Regions from separate parts of the Homo sapiens genome. Here region 2 is linked to region 1. The links are contacts of gene promoters, found by promoter capture Hi-C in human tissues and cell types (Jung and others, 2019). All regions are on one chromosome and are shown on one strand. Each heading gives the region's core, a stretch centred on a gene start or on the middle of the fragment in contact. The rest is flanking DNA. Distances are from core to core; before and after follow the strand shown. Region 1 holds the start of ADRA1A (adrenoceptor alpha 1A). Region 2 overlaps ADRA1A (adrenoceptor alpha 1A).

The links. Contacts are between HindIII fragments. The study calls those that stand out against the background at their distance.
Region 2: a contact is called between a fragment that was not itself captured here and the fragment with the promoter of ADRA1A in region 1, in 2 of the 25 tissues and cell types used here (aorta and bladder).

The regions. Positions count from the first base shown.
Region 1 is chr8:26,865,027-26,870,911 of GRCh38, reverse strand. ADRA1A (adrenoceptor alpha 1A) reads left to right here and starts at 3,634. Exons shown (of 3, transcript NM_000680.4): 1 at 3,634-3,976; 2 at 5,257-5,885. RefSeq lists an enhancer at 4,413-5,364. The HindIII fragment of the contact is 8,811 bases long and covers 1-5,885 here.
Region 2 is chr8:26,769,382-26,775,662 of GRCh38, reverse strand. ADRA1A (adrenoceptor alpha 1A) reads left to right here. Exons shown (of 3, transcript NM_000680.4): 3 at 4,997-6,281. The coding sequence ends at 5,514. It also overlaps the pseudogene RPLP1P9. Among named protein-coding and RNA genes, the nearest start is that of ADRA1A, 95 kb to the left of the region's middle. The HindIII fragment of the contact is 7,858 bases long and covers 1-6,281 here.

The DNA.
Region 1 (5,885 bases), core at 2,385-4,884:
TGGCAGGATTACAGATAATTTTTATTTTCATACATTTCTGTCTGACTTTTCCAAATGTGCTATTATGAGCATAAATTTTATAATTAAATACAAGTCAATAAGCATTTTAAAGTGCCTATAACAGCCCATCAGCAAGTGAAGAGATGAGATAAAAATGTGTCTGCACTTGGTACACATATTGACTTTCTTTTACTTCCATTTCCAGATGATATTGACAAAGATATTGAAAAAATTTGATTAATATGCCTCAGCTTAGATTTGCTATGCGAGAGCAAAGTCTTATTGTTTTAAAGGAATTATTTGCTGATCAGCTATAGGCTGACTTGACCTCATATTCCTACCATGATAGTCCCACAGTGTAGGGATGGGGTGGTATGACTCCCAAGACTTGGAGTATGTTATTTTCTCAGGGCAATGAAGATTTGGAAAAATGATGGCAAAGACAGAATTACTATCTCATCAAAGACATCCCTCAGCAGTATCTGTGGGCTGTGCAGTGTTCTCAGTTCGATAAAGGATTAGAACACAATGCTTCTTTGGAGAGCTGTGACTTGATACTGCATCAATACCTTTCTGAGAATTGTTTTTCATTTTCTTGCCTCTTTAACTTATTAAGCCTTAGGAGAATTAGTTGAAAAGCCAAGTCTTTGGGGTAGATACTAACATTAAGTCTTCTACTCTGTCATTTGCAATCATAAATTCCAGAACACAGCTCCTAATTCCATTGTGTATTGTTTTCTAAGGGAATGATAGACAGATTCTTTATTTTTTTAAACCTCTAAGCCTACCACACTTGCCGAGTTCCTCACTAGTCACTAAGAAAGTCCTGCCAATCAATGCATGGGTTTATGTCCATTGCTCAGCTCTTCTCCAATCAGACTCATTCCCCCAGCATCCCTGACACACCACTCTAAAATGCGGCTGCTGATGGTTCACCTTCCTCACTTTTGTCTACAAATCTCAATCCTGCTGATTCCACAAATCCTACATCAAGCAATATCATTTTATGAGTCTTTCCACAACCACCCCTTCAGGGGATTCTTCAATTTCTGTCACACCGGAAGTCTTCAGAGTATCACCCTCAGAGCCAGGCAAGAGGGACCCCGGCTAGGGTTTCAGGCTTTAGAGAGTCCAGCTCTGACTCCTTTTGGCCATAGGACTAATGTGATATGCCCACCTGGAGCCTGTGCCCTCCTTTCTAGACCATGCCCTGGGACTCAGAATCCCTTGCCCCAGATGGCCACACAATCACTTTCAGGTCCATTCTCTCTGGGCAGACAACATCACAAATGTGTGTACCCCAAGGCCTGAGGCCAAGAAGGCAGCTTTCTGGCTGTAGGGGCTGAGGTGTTCACACACATTTGCATGGCCCCTCAAGACAAAGAACAAGGGGGAAAGTGAGAAGAAAAGAAGCAGCCAGTGATCAGGGCCAGCTCTTGCAACTTAACCATGTTGGGTCATTCTGATTAAACCACTTAGCTCAAGTGTAGTGCTCAAGACACTTAGCACATTCTCCAGCTGAATTTACCAGTGTTCATGGACTACCTGGGTTAGAAATATATTTCACTATAAAGTAGCATACAAAATGAGCAGAAAGGGAGTTAATAAGATTAATAATAGAGTTAGTGAATATTATGAGCTGAGTTTTTGAGAAACGTAATTTCTTTCAACACTAATAACAACCTTGTGGGGGTTCATTGTCTCCCTTTAAAAATTAGGAAACCAAGGCTTTGCCATGGTCGCATAGGAGGGTCAGAATAGCATCTTTATGACCCCAGAGCATACTCCTCTCCACTCCACCTACCCATGTGTACAACTCAGACACTTTCTGGGATGTCCACGTCAACTATTCTTTAAAGAGTAACCAACAGATGGATAGTTTTCTGTTTGTGAATCAATGGTAGGTGACTGAAAAATTGGTTCTGAGAGGTCGTTTTGCAAGGATTGATGGTCACAGGCTGAGAAGCAGATTTGAAAGACCTACCTGCTAGCAGCATGAAGAGCTGCTCTTCCTTATCTTAGTATTAACTAGTTAATTATTGGAGGTGGGTGCAGGGGTGGATTATGTGTATTCTTAATTGTTGTAGAGTGGGGACTGGGAGTTACAAAGACTTTTGCAATTTTCGACCTTGCAGAGCTGAGCAATTTTCAGTTGCTTTGCTTGCTGATAGCACTGCTTCCCTTATCTACCATGGAACACATCTTAATGAAGAATTTGCATTCACAGCATCAGGTTAATGAATACAAAACAAAACAGTGTATATCCCTCTGATGGATGGGATTTCGGAAGCACAGACATTATACACATATTTGATGATAAAGTACTAGAAGTGCAGGGAATTGAGGTCAAGCTTCCTCCTAAGGGGACTGAATCCCAGAGAGAGCAGGTGACTTAGTAATGAGAAGTGGAGCTGTCTGTTCAACCAGGATGCTCCTCCTATGGCACGAAATTCAGTTTTAAAAATATATTAAATTCAAATCAAATGTGTTAGGTGTGAGTTCTATCCCTACAGGTATGAGGCAGAGGTGGAGGACTTTGTATACAATAGAGAAATAAATACATATATTAGGTCTTCCATGACATAGGATTTACTGACCCTCTCATGGGCATTCCTCTGAGGCATTTTGAGATTTATTGCTATAAAAGAGCCTCCCAAACATTATCTCACTTAGAAAAGGTAATCATATTAATATGATTTTGTTCACAGGAGAGAATTTAAGTGCCACTGCTTAAAGTTATCTCCTTGTTCCTAGGTTTAAGGAGACCTAGTAAATAAGAACATTCCACTTTGTCTGCATCAATAAAGATGAAAGATGACTTAGGAGGTGGGAATTGGAGTGGGAAACATTTTTCTATGTTCCCGATATTCTGAAACACATGTGACTTTATTCAATCACAAGGTAAACAGATTATGTAATTTACCAGAAAAAAAGTAATAAGACTGGTGGTGCTAGGTTTTCATACTCCAGCTATTAATGAATTAAAGAGAGTAACACTCCTGAAAGGATACCATTTTCTCAAGAAAACTGGAAAAGATTGTGTGGCATTTAAAAAATACCAAACTCTGTGGCCATAATGCTCTTAAAATTCATCTGTCTAAAGAAATTAGAAGTGAATCATATTAAATAAGGTTTAGATATGTCCACTTTATCTTCCTGAAAATATAATTTCATTACAATCAGATTTGTCATATTTTATCTGATTTTACTTGCTATTTAAAACACCTTATAATTTACTTGCATATTTAGAATTACAATATTCTTAATATACTTCTTGATCTTAACAAAACCTAGGCCAAATGTTAATCAAATCAAGCTGTTCAAAGTTACTTTATAGCACATTCCTATGAACACACCATACACACAGCAATATCTAGCAAGGGTGTCAATTTTTCGTTATTTTTAAAAGCTCATTTAAAGAAGTTATTTACTACAAATGACTCTACACACACACACGCGCGCGCGCGCGCGCACACACACACACACACACACACAAACCTTTTTAAAGAAACGCTAGAACCCAACCCCCTCTAGGCCAGAGGAAAACATTACAGCTGTATACGCACTTGTGCCTGTTGCCGTAGAGTAATACGGTAGCAGCAGGAGATTACGGTACTAGCTGGGCTACTGCCTGAGTTACGTCAGCGAGAGCTGCAAAGTTCCTTGCTATTCTTTTCTGGTGTCGGGGAGCTGAATATTAAAAGGGTGATTGTGGAGTTACCGGTTATCTGCATTTTTTTTTCTTTTCTTATTTTGACTCTTTTTAAAAAATGCAGGTAAAGTGACAGCGGTTCAGGAGCTTAAAGACATCAGTGGTGGAGGGGTGAGTCAGCGGGTGCAAAAGGACAAGGATTTGGTGCCTCGGAGACACGGTCCCCTCTCCGCCTCCAGAGAAGAGCAGGCAGGCAGCTCCCGGGACCGAAGCCGGGTCCACATCCCCCGCGCGCGAGCTGGTGGCTCAGCAGCGGCGCTTCAGGTGAGTGCGCCGGGGCCGGCGTCCCGCAGGGCCGAGTGGGTGAGGGCAGACCTCCCCCGCCGTCTGGTGAGACGGAACCCCCACTTTTCCCAGCGCCTCCCGCTTTTTCCACCAGGTTTTATACCGGCCCCTCTACCCCACCCCCGATTCCCTTACATCTTCTGCGAAGTTGCCTTCTACTGAACAAGTGTCTTTTTAACCCTGTGTTTATCACCCTCGAGGTAGGAGGAAAAGGGTTTCTGCAGTGGCACGTTTTTAATACCACCTGTGAGGTCTCCAACTTGCGATTTTAACAAGAGTCTTTGCCCGAGGTCCCACCTCAGGGCCCAACCCCAGAAGGCAAGGTGGGCACTTCCTCACGCCGCGCTGTCCTGCCGAGTCCCTGCGGTAGGTTCGCAGTTGTGGAAACCCAGGTTTCTTACGCAGATGGTGGCCCCCAGCCCAGAAAATCGAAGGCGGCCCCTGCCCGCTGGCATGCCGGCTTAATGTTTACGCCTGCAAAATCCGCAGTGACTGTCACTTGCAAAGCTCCCTCTGCAGAGGGACGTCCTCCCCACCCCGTCCCCCGCCAGTCCCGCTACGGCTGGCAGCTGGAGCCCCTCGGGTGGCCAACAGTGAGGCTTGGAAAGGCGTCGTGGACAGACCTGGGTCGCTTTCTGTCTTCGGGTCCCTCCCGGCTTCGCTCGGGACCTGGCTCTCAAGCCAGCTTGGCTGGTGGACAGACCGGTGCGCTCTGCACACCCGAGTGCGAATTCCACCGGCGTGAGAGTGAGCGTGCTCGTGGTCCTGGCCCTGAGGTCCCTGGGTCGCAGCTGTTCCCTCTCCCAGGCCGCCCCCTCCAGGTGACTGCGAGGCAACCTGTTCTAACGGAAACCGAGTACATCCTCCAGAATTCCCCGGCTAGGATCCGTGCGACACACTCGCCAGCCGCAGTCGCCCCTCCGGGGCTTCGAGGATTTTAATTTCGTGGTACCTGCGCTCGAAATCCAGACTTCGAGCGCTGGAGCCTGGGGTTTTGGGGATTTGTTTTTTTGTTTGTTTTTCGCTTCGGATCCTGAACTCGGGCAGAGGTGACTCAGTAGAGTGCGCTAGGCAGGTTCCCAGTGGTGGGGGCGCGAGATGAGCTCCGAAGTCGCCTCCACCGCTGCCGGGCGAAGCAGCTTCTGGACCGCAGAACCAACCCGGCTCCCAACTGGTGTCCCCCAACCCGTCAAGCTCAGCACAGCCTCTTTCCCTGGGGCGCCTAGCTCAAAGCCGCCTTTCTCTTTGCGCTCTTTCAGGTGGACGCGGTCAAACGATGCCCCGCAGCCTCCTGGGTCTCAGCACATATTCCACACCTACGTCCCCTGACCTGTGCTCCTAGAAGCTGGAGAGAGCAGGAGCCTTCGGTGGGGCAGCTCAAAATGTAGGTAACTGCGGGCCAGGAGCAGCGCCCAACCTGTAGCGCTGCGCTACCCAACCATCGGTCCCTGCCTTTGAGCGTCGACGGCTGATCTTTTGGTTTGAGGGAGAGACTGGCGCTGGAGTTTTGAATTCCGAATCATGTGCAGAATGCTGAATCTTCCCCCAGCCAGGACGAATAAGACAGCGCGGAAAAGCAGATTCTCGTAATTCTGGAATTGCATGTTGCAAGGAGTCTCCTGGATCTTCGCACCCAGCTTCGGGTAGGGAGGGAGTCCGGGTCCCGGGCTAGGCCAGCCCGGCAGGTGGAGAGGGTCCCCGGCAGCCCCGCGCGCCCCTGGCCATGTCTTTAATGCCCTGCCCCTTCATGTGGCCTTCTGAGGGTTCCCAGGGCTGGCCAGGGTTGTTTCCCACCCGCGCGCGCGCTCTCACCCCCAGCCAAACCCACCTGGCAGGGCTCCCTCCAGCCGAGACCTTTTGATTCCCGGCTCCCGCGCTCCCGCCTCCG
Region 2 (6,281 bases), core at 1,514-4,013, 94 kb after region 1:
CCAAGAATTAAACCAGGCAAATTCACATGCAAAGGATGGCTTGAGCTGCAGGGCAAGGTGTTCAGGGGATTAAGTCAGGAGCTGTTGGCTCTTCTTGAAGCAGAGATTGTTGAGGAGAAAACCATAGCTACGGTGACCAAAGAAGTAGGAGCCCCTATTCTCATGTGGGTGATTTGGAAGTCTGGCTCTTCCTATGAAGCATCATGAGAAAAACTAGAGGGTCTGATGCCAGATGATAGAGCAAGGAAAAAATGGTAGTAAAATAACATTACAAAAAAACCAAATGACTGAACTGAAATGGTGGGCAAAAAAAAGAAGAATGAGACAGCAGAAAGAAGTCAGGGTTGGGAGATAATATGAGGCTACAGCCATCACGCAGAAAAGAAAACCAAGCCACACTGTGAAGAAGAACCATGGCAAGAACACAGAGACACAGCCATTCATTCATTCAGTCAGTCAGTCCATCCGTCTGTCAGAAGGTCGGCCATTCATGCAGCAAAAACTAGGAGAATGCCTTCAAGACTCTAGCATTTTACTGGATTCTGGAGCTCCGTGAGTGAGCAAAGCCGGCCGGATGGCTGCTCGAATGGACTTCCCCACAGAGTGACTGGGTCAGAGGCACCCACCCCTGAACCAGGCTGGTTCAGCCCTGACCCTCTAGGTCCTGATGGCTGGAGGCCAGGAACAAGCATTCTCCAGCTGTCTTCCCACCCTAAAAACATAGCCAGTCCTCAGGAAGAAAGAGATTTGGGAAGAATGGAGGCTGAGGATAGAACTAATGCAGAGTTCAGAGAAAATAGAACCAGACGGGGAAGGTTTGGGCAGAGAAAGAGAGAGCAGGAGGAGGGTTTGGGGCCATGCAGCTGCTTTCCAAGCCCAATTCCAGCCCCATCTCTCCTTTCTAGGAGAGGAAAAATAAAGGAAGAAATACGTGGATGGGAATAATGTCAATAAGGAGAGGAGCAGTTCTTTTGCTGTCCTTTTTTTTTTTTTTTAGACAGGGGTTCACTCCCGTTGCCCATGCTGGACTGCAGTGGTGCGCATTAGCTCACTACAACTTCTACCTCCCGGGCTCAAGCAATCCTCCTACCTCAGCCTCCTGAGTAACTGGAACTACAGGCACATGCCACCACACCCAGCTAATTTTTGTATTTTTAGTAAAGATGGGGTTTCACCATGTTGCCCAGGCTGGTCTCAAACTCCTGGTGTCAAGTGATCTGCCCACCTTGGCCTCCCAAAGTGCAGTGATTACAGGCGTGAGCCACCATGCCTAGCCCTTTTGCTGTCTTTTCTCACTCTTTGGAAAGTTCTTGAAGGAAGCATAGCTATGAGTCTCTCATCTAACCCCAGCCAGTCAGCAGCTGCTCAAAGAAAATCACATGGCTCCCAGCACCTGTTCCCCATCACAAGGGAAGAATACTCCAAGCATGAGAATGGATCCTGCAACCTGCCCCTGGTGGAACTATCAGTTTGGGAGCATGCAAATCCGTGCTAGGCTTACACACATCTGGCTGCTGTCACACACTTAATAGGATAAACCAAACATTGTCATTTACAGGAAGGTCTCTGGTCTGGAAGCATAAGCCAAAATCTAGAGATTTGCTTGGATTAAAAAGAAAATATTCCTGGGGTTAGGCCTAGAGATTATCTGACATTCAGATCTTAGTGTAAATTAGTTTTAATCAACTCTCTTTCTCACCCTATACCTATACCTGAGCCATGTTGAAGAAATGAGTGTTTTGAGTGGGGTACAGAGAGGGGGAGGCCAGGATTCACCTGTGAAGACTGGAACACAGCAAGAGACTAGAGAGAGGGCCCAAGAGCTTGGCTCTGGGTCAGCCATACCTGGAATTAAGAGCAGGGCCACGCAAGGAAAGAAGGGATGGGAAGGAAGTGACTAAAAGGAAATGTTGAGATTTACGAGTGCAAAACTGGGTTCTGTAAGCAGAATGAGTGTAATTGAAGGAATTATGGGAAATTCCAAGACTCTCAAACCATATTTATTAGCATTCACATTCATAGTGCATATTTTTTTTTCTTTTTTAAAAATTGAAATTCTTCAAATAAGGAAACGACCCTCCCCTCCCTCGCTGATTTACAGAGTAGTGACATTCCCAGACAAGGTGGGTTTCAGTGTGCTCAGCTCAGACATTCTTGTAGTCATTAAGCACAGGCCCAGGCAGGTCTTTGTGAAATGGGTTTCCTTAATCACATCACTGTCACTATTAGTAGGAAATATTGGACAATATATAGGTTTCATAATGTAAGACAAATTTTTTTCTGGAACTGACCGCATTTGCACAAAACCATCAGTCATGTTGGCATTAGCCATTTTTTCCATCACAGATGAGGTTCGAAAAAGCATTTTTCCAATTCAGCTTCCCCCAGCTGCACACTTTATCACTCCCCATCAGCTATCCTCCTAAGAGATGTATTATTGCAGTATATTTGGAGATTCCACAAAGGAGCATGGGCCCTGAAATCAATCACACTGCCTAATTTCAAACCTACCAGTAACTATGTGAGTGACCTCGGTTGAGCTACTCAAACTCATTAAGCCACAGTTTCTTCATTTGTAAAATAGGGAAGAGTCACATAACTCTTCATGTTACTAACGATGATTAAATCATATGGAAAGTGTTCAGCACAGTGCCTTGCCTGTTTCAAATCAGGCATTCAAAGACTGTAAACTTTATTATAATTATAGGACAACATGAAAAGCTTTAGAGCTAAAGAATAAAACTTTCTCACTTTACATGTTTTCCAAATAAACACCCATTGTGTGTGTGTGTGTGTGTGTGTGAATTTGAGACACATGGAACTTAGCAGGGAGTGTGCTTCAGAGGTAATAAATGCTCCCATCAACAACCACACTATTGTGTCTTCTTTGGGTTCTTCAGTATTTAAGTTTACTCTTTGTTTATATTGATGAGCTTTTTGACTTAATTTCAGAGCACTGTTTGCCAGAGTGGATTTTAATAGCACCAGCAATTTGTCACGGCTCTGATAGGTCCACAGAGCAGAGAGGAAAAGAAAGACATAAAATCAAGACCTTAGGTTTGAAACAACAGCAACAAAAAAATTGTTCAGGGCCATTAGGAATCATCCATTCAACATACTCCTTTTTCAGATAAGAAAACTGGAGGCCCAAAGGCATCATAGGAGTTTCCCAAAGCCATTCTACCAACTGTACACGAAGCTGTGACTAAAAGCCCGCGGAGAAGGAAAAGGAGCTTGGGAGCCAAGAAAGAAAAGAAAGGAGGTGGAAGGAAAGTCAAGATGTTATTTTGCAATTTCTCTGAAAGGAGTGAAGAGGGACGTTTGGGATTTCATAATTCATAAAGCTCCTTTAGCAAAAGCCCTTGGAAGTCTGAGAATCAGAGAATAAAGAACATTGGATTGGGAGTCCCATACCCTTTATCCATCACTCTTATCAGTATTGTAGCTATGAGGTTTGTGACAATCTCTTTAATAAGCATTTTTAAGAGTTCAGCTTTTTATTGAACGTGTTATAAAATAGGTTTACTCAAAAAAAAAAAAAAAAAGCCCATATTATCATCAGACTCCAGATTCTTCTTTCTTTGCTTCCACCTTCTTCTTCTCGGCCTAGGCCACAGTGACAGAAGGGCAGGACCTCCCGCAGGTACACCACCAGCTGCTGAGCAGGTCTTCCCACCCCGCCCCTCCACTGCAGAGGAGGCTCCCGAAGTTGACGATGGCCAGGGCCTTGGCAGACAAGCCAGGCCAAAAGCCGTCATCATTTACCCCAGCTGCTTTAGAAACGACATTGACCTTATCCTATGTGATGATCCCCTCAGCGTTATACAGAATGAGGGCTGAGTCAGTGCAGGCGAGCTCTGAGATGGAGTCCGTGGTGTGGACAAGTGCAAGGCTGGGCTGCCCGGAGTAGTGCTAGTGCTGGATGCAGTGAGGGCCTGACCCCAACGCAGCCTCAGCTCAGAAGGGCAGAGCATCTTGGCGGCAGCTGGGAAAAGGCTAAATAAGCATTTTTTAAATTTGTAAATTGAGTAATTGGAGGAGATAATCCTTAAGGTTGTTCCATTTTAAGACTTCACAGTTTTGTTCTTCTGCTGCGAAATGCCCTGTGGCAGTCTCTGCGCAGGATGTGACGGGTCCTGAGGCCTGGTTCCTGCCGTGCACATCAACGGGTAGGGTTTGGGTAGGTAGAGAAGGTGGAAAAGGGCATCAAGGACACAGTGGCCCAACTTGAGAGGACAAAAAAAATGATCAATGACCTGGAGAAAAAGTGTAGTGAGTCTGGCTAGAGAAAAAATAGCAACTAGTCATATTAGAAAGCTGGTTAGACCAGAGGCTGTGGAGGACTCCGAATGTGAAGCAAAGACACACATTTGGGAGACATCGAGGGATATTGACAAAGGGAGCTAACGGTGACATCAAAAGACATCATCTAGGAAAAGTGATTGAGAATCACTGGCCCAACTTTGGCAAGGCCAATATTGTGTAAAGTTGAGATTCTCATCAAAATCCATAATTCTAACATTTGGGAGGGGAGGAATTCATAAACACTGAGGCTGTGTCTGTTGCATAACACTGCATCAGAGAATAAAGGGCATGTTCAGATAACCGAATTTTAATATGGATTACTTGCATGGATTCCAACTTACTTTTCAATTTAGGCAAAACAATTTACATATGTGGACTCAGTCTGAGTTTCACATTTTCATTTGGTAAAACTTCACAGCAGCTGTTGGTCACTGAGAGCCAGTGCAACCCTACCCACTGGGCCTGCTCCTGTAATTAATGACACACGCGGACCAAGTAGGAATGGTCTTTGAAGATATTGCAAAAGGGTGACAGTCATAGGAGCTAGTCAGTCAAATGTGAGAAACTCATATGTGTTTGGGATCATTTTAACCGTTTAAAAATACAGAAAGATGTCTGTTTGATTGTTTTCCTAGCCAATTGGCTTGCTGGCTTTCAAATAATATGTATAAATCTGTGTGTTTTCTTCCAGGGTCTTTCTTCCCTGATTTCAAGCCCTCTGAAACAGTTTTTAAAATAGTATTTTGGCTCGGATATCTAAACAGCTGCATCAACCCCATCATATACCCATGCTCCAGCCAAGAGTTCAAAAAGGCCTTTCAGAATGTCTTGAGAATCCAGTGTCTCTGCAGAAAGCAGTCTTCCAAACATGCCCTGGGCTACACCCTGCACCCGCCCAGCCAGGCCGTGGAAGGGCAACACAAGGACATGGTGCGCATCCCCGTGGGATCAAGAGAGACCTTCTACAGGATCTCCAAGACGGATGGCGTTTGTGAATGGAAATTTTTCTCTTCCATGCCCCGTGGATCTGCCAGGATTACAGTGTCCAAAGACCAATCCTCCTGTACCACAGCCCGGGTGAGAAGTAAAAGCTTTTTGCAGGTCTGCTGCTGTGTAGGGCCCTCAACCCCCAGCCTTGACAAGAACCATCAAGTTCCAACCATTAAGGTCCACACCATCTCCCTCAGTGAGAACGGGGAGGAAGTCTAGGACAGGAAAGATGCAGAGGAAAGGGGAATAATCTTAGGTACCCACCCCACTTCCTTCTCGGAAGGCCAGCTCTTCTTGGAGGACAAGACAGGACCAATCAAAGAGGGGACCTGCTGGGAATGGGGTGGGTGGTAGACCCAACTCATCAGGCAGCGGGTAGGGCACAGGGAAGAGGGAGGGTGTCTCACAACCAACCAGTTCAGAATGATACGGAACAGCATTTCCCTGCAGCTAATGCTTTCTTGGTCACTCTGTGCCCACTTCAACGAAAACCACCATGGGAAACAGAATTTCATGCACAATCCAAAAGACTATAAATATAGGATTATGATTTCATCATGAATATTTTGAGCACACACTCTAAGTTTGGAGCTATTTCTTGATGGAAGTGAGGGGATTTTATTTTCAGGCTCAACCTACTGACAGCCACATTTGACATTTATGGGGAGAGGGCCTAGAGAGGAAGAGCATTAAGATGGTGGCCGAGATCCAGACACATTATTTTTAGAGCAAGTCCTGAAACTCCACCCTTTCTGATACATCCAATTTCTCAGCTTGAGGGAAACTTGGCAGTGAGGTTTACCTTTGACTGCACTTTGAATGGATGCTGCTCCTCATTTCCCAAAGATGAGAGTGAGGGGCACTCATGATGTCTTGGAATGTAGTGTTCTCTATCCTTGGGTCAGGAGAGGGTTGAAAGAACCAACCAGGGTGGTATGGCTTTTCCCAAGAGAAAACAATAGACCTGAGCATCATTCTTTCAATTT